Regions from separate parts of the Homo sapiens genome. Here region 1 is linked to region 2. The links are contacts of gene promoters, found by promoter capture Hi-C in blood cells and fetal thymus (Javierre and others, 2016). All regions are on one chromosome and are shown on one strand. Each heading gives the region's core, a stretch centred on a gene start or on the middle of the fragment in contact. The rest is flanking DNA. Distances are from core to core; before and after follow the strand shown. Region 1 overlaps SH3BGRL2 (SH3 domain binding glutamate rich protein like 2). Region 2 holds the start of SH3BGRL2 (SH3 domain binding glutamate rich protein like 2).

Evidence for each region. The method cuts DNA at HindIII sites, captures the fragments that hold promoters and counts their contacts. A CHiCAGO score of 5 or more calls a contact.
Region 1: a contact is called between a fragment that was not itself captured here and the fragment with the promoter of SH3BGRL2 in region 2, in 1 of 17 cell types (megakaryocytes). The highest score is 6.8, in megakaryocytes.

The regions. Positions count from the first base shown.
Region 1 is chr6:79,665,098-79,667,797 of GRCh38, forward strand. All of the region lies in intron 1 of SH3BGRL2 (SH3 domain binding glutamate rich protein like 2), which reads left to right. Among named protein-coding and RNA genes, the nearest start is that of SH3BGRL2, 35 kb to the left of the region's middle. The HindIII fragment of the contact is 1,226 bases long and covers 751-1,976 here.
Region 2 is chr6:79,629,955-79,632,661 of GRCh38, forward strand. It overlaps SH3BGRL2 (SH3 domain binding glutamate rich protein like 2), which reads left to right and starts at 1,375. Exons shown (of 4, transcript NM_031469.4): 1 at 1,375-1,552. The coding sequence starts at 1,508. The HindIII fragment of the contact is 2,885 bases long and covers 1,074-2,707 here.

The DNA of each region.
Region 1 (2,700 bases), core at 114-2,613, 35 kb after region 2:
GTTGAGACAGGAAAATCGCTTGAACCCAGGAGGAGGAGTTTGCAGTGAGCTGAGATCGAGCCACTGCACTCCAGCCTGGGCAACAGAGCGAGACTCCGTCTCTAAATAAATAAAAAAATAAAAATTCAGCAAATTTGAAACACCATCTTTACAACACACCTAAATCTCCAATGTTAGAATAATGTTTAAATACATTAGCATAAGTACTCAATATAATTCATACATGCAATAAGATAGCTATGGAGATTTTAGAAACAAAAAATATTCGTAATACAACAGAAACATCCTTCCCCAAAACATTTGTTATTATGGCAACTATATAAAGTCTACTTCTAAATGTGGGCTCCCTGGAAGGTTCTATGAAAAATAAAAGCCTCAGCGTGATGAGATTATGGGTTTTTTAAAATTAAAAAATTTCAAATGGGAAAGATGATTTACCATATTATAAACATGTAAAAAAGAAACCAATGCAAATTGATCAAGAAAACAGGACCAAAAATATTGACTGGTTAAAAAGAAAACCAAAGTTAAAAGTATGAATTCAAGCTTAATAATATTTATTTGTTTAATACAAATATTTGCCCATGTAGTAAGTGCCAGGGACTGTGCTAGTGATACATAGATGGAAAACCACAGCATTTTCTATCATTAAAATTATATTGTTTCAATTTATAACATGTACTAACAGTTTTTCAAAAATTGACCTTTATTTTATAATCTGTCTTTCTGACAGGGATTCTGTAAAACTCAAGCTTCAGTCTTTTGTAAGTCAGCCTCTTTATCCTTGGCTTGGTAATCTGGTATTTGCTTTCTAGTAAGATAAACTGAAATAGAAACTGGAGACACTGTACTTTATGTATAATCTCTCATTTAGTTAAGCAGCATTAGAACATTGCCAGTTAGCAAATGGCTTCTTGGGGGTTACTCTACACCCCTGCCCTGCTCCCCAACAATGAGGCGTACTGCTGAGGGTTTCAGTTAGGAATGTGTTCATTTGCAAGTAACAGAGAACCTGTCTAACATGAGCTTAAACAGAGGTGTTTCAGTCTCTCCTGGTAAGTCTGGAGGCTGAACTTGTCGAGGGCCTGCCTTGCTGGGATTCTCTTGGCCTTTTCTGATGCCTGTCACCTCAACGTGGAAAGGCTGCCCCACACCACTAGCCCTCACATCTGGATGCCAAGCTGGAAGAATGAGGAAGGGCAGGGACAAGGGGCCTTAGCATTGTAATCTGTCGGCTTCAGCAGAAAAGCCAAGCTCTGTCCAGAAGCTCCACCTAGTACACTGAGCTTTAGTTTTTTAGACTTCACAGGGCAGATCATGAATGGCTTTGGTGTAACTAGGCTAATGTCTGCCACAGTACTTTCTGCCATTTGCATCCTCTTTTTTGACAGCATAATCCCTAATAAGGCCAAGGATGGTGTTTTATTTAAAGAATTTGCCATGAAATTAGGTATATTTGAGGTACCCTACTCAATCACTGGAAAGTTCCTGAGGTCTTTGACAAGGGAAAGAGCCTCAGCCCTTTCCTCCCTTGTTAGTTGAAAGGAAGAATCAACTTAGGGCCTTCTACCTTCCTTAATCCAGTCCAGGCCCTCCTTTGTAAGTTTCGTCAAGCTGTTTTAAAAAAAACTTTTCCCTTCTATTTTCTCTCACTGTCTGACTTTTTTCTATTTGAGATACATAAGAGGTCCTAATCAGCCTTACATCTACCCCAAGTCAGAATAAAGAAAGCTGTGTGTTTGAAGTGTGAAAGCAGGTGAAATAAAGAACTGTTGTGTTGAATATCTAAAGCCTTTGAAAGCACTCAGAAGTTACTATATTTTTGACAGAGGCCACATCTAGGGCAAAGATAGAAAAGCTAGTATGTTTGAGTGAATGAAACAATTGAGCAGGTGCCCATTACTGCTTAGGCCTTTTCTTGTTTAATTTTCCAGTGAACCTATGGAAAAAAGATAATTGGGTTCTATTAAAAGAAAAGCTTTATGCAGATTATATTTAACAGAGTTTTACTGAACCAAGAATATTTTGTGAATTGGGCAGCCCCCTGAACCAGCATAGGTTCAGAAGGACTCTGACACTGCTTCATAGTCACAAAGAATTTATGTACAGAAAAAGGAAGTTAGGTACAAAAACGGGAATAATCTAATGGAAGTTAGATTGGTTACAGCTTGGCGCTTGCCTTGTTTGGACACAGTTCGAATAGTTGGCTGCCTTAATTGGCTGAAATGCTGTGATTGGTCCAAGAGTAGGTTACAATCTGTTTACGTATCTAGTTAGGTTACAGTTCACTATGGATGGAGCAACCTTTAGGCTGAACTCAAAATATGTAAGGAGGTAGCTTTAGGCTAAGTTTTTTTTTTTTTAATTGAGACAGAGTCTCACTCTGTCGCCCAGGCTGGAGTGCAGTGGTGTGATCTCAGCTCACTGCAACCTCTGACTCCTGGGTTCAAGGGATTCTCCCACCTCAGCCTCCTGAGTAGCTGGGATTACAGGTACATGCCATGACAGCCAGCTAATTTTTGTATTTTTAGTAGAGATGAGGTTTCACTATGTTGGCCAGGCTGGTCTCGAACTCCTGACCTCAGGTGATCTGTCCACCTCAGCCTCCCAAAGTGCTGGGATTACAGGCGTGAGCCACCGCTCCTGGCCTTAGGCTAAACTTAATTTAGCAGTTTATTTCACAGGTTTGGAAATGGAAGC
Region 2 (2,707 bases), core at 125-2,624:
TTATATAGGAAATACGGTATCTACTTTTAAGAAAATTATTTTCTATTTTATAAACGTGCATTTCCACATTTATGGTAGCAAAATTAAAGTACATTTGCCGAGAGATACTAAAGACAGCAAAACTTCTATTTAAAATTTTAAACACGAAGAAGAAATAAAGTCCCATTAGGAGTGTCTCTTCTATTATTGAAGGAAATTTAAAAAGATTCCTACTACAGAAATGGCTTTAAGAAAAGCAATAGGAAAGGTTATAAATTTGAAATATTCATAACTGTTCTAAAAAATACTTCATAATGATTGCTCTTTGTGCAAGAAATGTATCAAAGAGCCAGAGACCTCATCATCTAATTTCTTACTTTTTCTTAATTAACATTGTTCCCAGACCTCTGCTAAACTCCCGTGTTGAAAGGAAAAAAGTAAATACAGTACAGCAGGGAAAACTGGTTCCTTTCGACAAAACTGAGAGAGAGGCTTGAGCTTTTGTCAAACAGAAAGCACTTGATAAAAAACTATTCCTAAACTATTAGCAACTATATAGAAGCTTTTTATTTAACAGCATCCTCCTGGGAAACTGCGCTGGAATGTGCAGCGGTTCTGAAAAAGGCACAGATTTGGCTGAACTGTAAATATTAGGTGCACAGAGGCGAAGCCATTGTGTAGGGAGGGGTGGGGCAGGTAGGGTCCTGATTTCCAATGTTGATAGAAGGATTCCAATTTCGTTTGGTATTTATTTTTTTCTACTACAATTACAGTTTTGCTGAGAAAAATAAAATATTGGTTGTGCTTCCATCTGGGTTTCTAATTTTCAGTGTGTACAGACAAGAGAAGACCTCTCATTTACCCAAAAGAATCACCTTTCTGCAATCTCCAGTGCTACTGGACAAACAAACGAGCCCAACCCCACCGCCCACACCTCCCAAGCACCCGGCTCGCCGATCCCGCCTGCTTCAGGTAGCTGGGGTTTGCCCGGTACGCCAGCGGCCCTGAGACGATGTGTGCCCGCAGCACGATCGTGTCTGTTGGCATTTCTGGGTGTGGATGCTCCAAACCAATAAACCACAATACAGAACCCAAGCTTGGACTTTGAACCGAGCCCTTTTGCCTAGTTTGCTTTTTCCTCATCAAGCCAGGATCCTTGCCAACCCACCTCACAGCTTCTGCCCGGGCTGTGGCTCCCCTCCAGCCACCTGCGCGTGTTCGGGATAGAAGCGCGGTCAGGAGGGGAGCTCAGTCCACCAGCCACTCCAGGGAGAGACGGAAACTACAAATCCCATCAAGCCCCGCAGCCGGCTCCCTCCTCCTCCCTCTCCTTCCCCTTCAGCCTGCGGCCGGGCGGCGCTGGGCTTTTATCTGCGGACCCGCCGGGAGGGAGCCAGATCCCAGCGATCTTCCCCGACGGCAGCGCTTTACCCAGAGGCTGCCGGCGGCTCGTAGCTGGGTTCAGCTCTGCGTCCACGCCAGCCCGGAGCCCGGGGGGCAAGGGGTCTGTCCCGGGCGCAGCGAGAGGATGGTCATCCGCGTGTTCATCGCCTCTTCCTCGGGCTTCGTGGCGGTGAGCGCGGTGGGGGCGGGCAGTAGGTTGGGGTCGCGGGGCGCGGGTCCTGCGGGAGGCGCGCGGCGCTCGTCACTGCGCGTCCTTGCGCTCAGCCGGTCCGCCCGCGGGAGCCCGCGCCCGGCAGGTGATCCATCACACTCCGACAACAATGAAGAGGGCGGGGAGGAAAGGTGGGTGGGGGACCCCGGCCTCACCCAAATGCCCACCCTGCGTGGCCTGAAAGGCAGACAACGCGGCCTGAAAATGGAGTCCGAGGGAAGCCCCCAGCTCCTGTTGTGTGGCATGGAAATTTGGGGAACGGGTTGTTCAAGAGCTTCGGGGATCCCCCTTCCCCTAGTTTAGTTCTTCCCGATTTGGGACCTTCAGACTGGTTATGTTTTGCACGGGAGCCTTTTCTGCTGCTTTGGTTTGTTACCCTAGCTCCTGAATGAAGCAAGTTTAAGTGGGAATTGCTCTCTGTCCTCCCTTCCCCGCCAGCAAGTGCATTTGTTTAGTTTTATACCTGCGCAAAGAGAATAGTAAAACTAGGTTTGTCCTGTTGTGGTAGGATTGTTTGCTTTCACTGTCATTTTTTTTCTTAGGGTGCCATAAATATTTTTACATCTTTATGTAAATGTGTGTGTATGCACGCATTTTCTTTCCACCTGTAATGCTGTGGAAATTTTATCCTGGGGATCTATGAATTGTGGTTTTCTATTTAATTATTTTTAGCTATTCTCTTTGGTGGATGTTCTTGAATTTTTTTAGAGAAAAAAAATTTTTTTAAAGAAAGGAAAGTTAAATAGCTAGAGATGTCAGAATTTAAGGAAAATTCAGTAGTTAGTATATTTGACAGCCCACTAAGGGACATAGCACATGTGTTTTACATGATTATTGAGACTTGGTTTCCTTAACCAAGAGTTCAGCTATAGATTTAAGAGCCTCCTTTGTGACATATATAATCAAGTAACATCAAAAAGTGCATTGTAGATTGCTTAAATTTGGTCTGGTCAATTGTCTGCCCAGTAGCTCAGTCAGATTGTTCCAAAATTTGTTTCTTAAGTGGGTGGAGTGGAGGATGGAATAAAATATTGTTTGAAAATCCTTGTACACCACTGAAGTTTTTTATTTAAAAAGAAACCAACACGATCATACAAAGCCCCTCCACCCCCA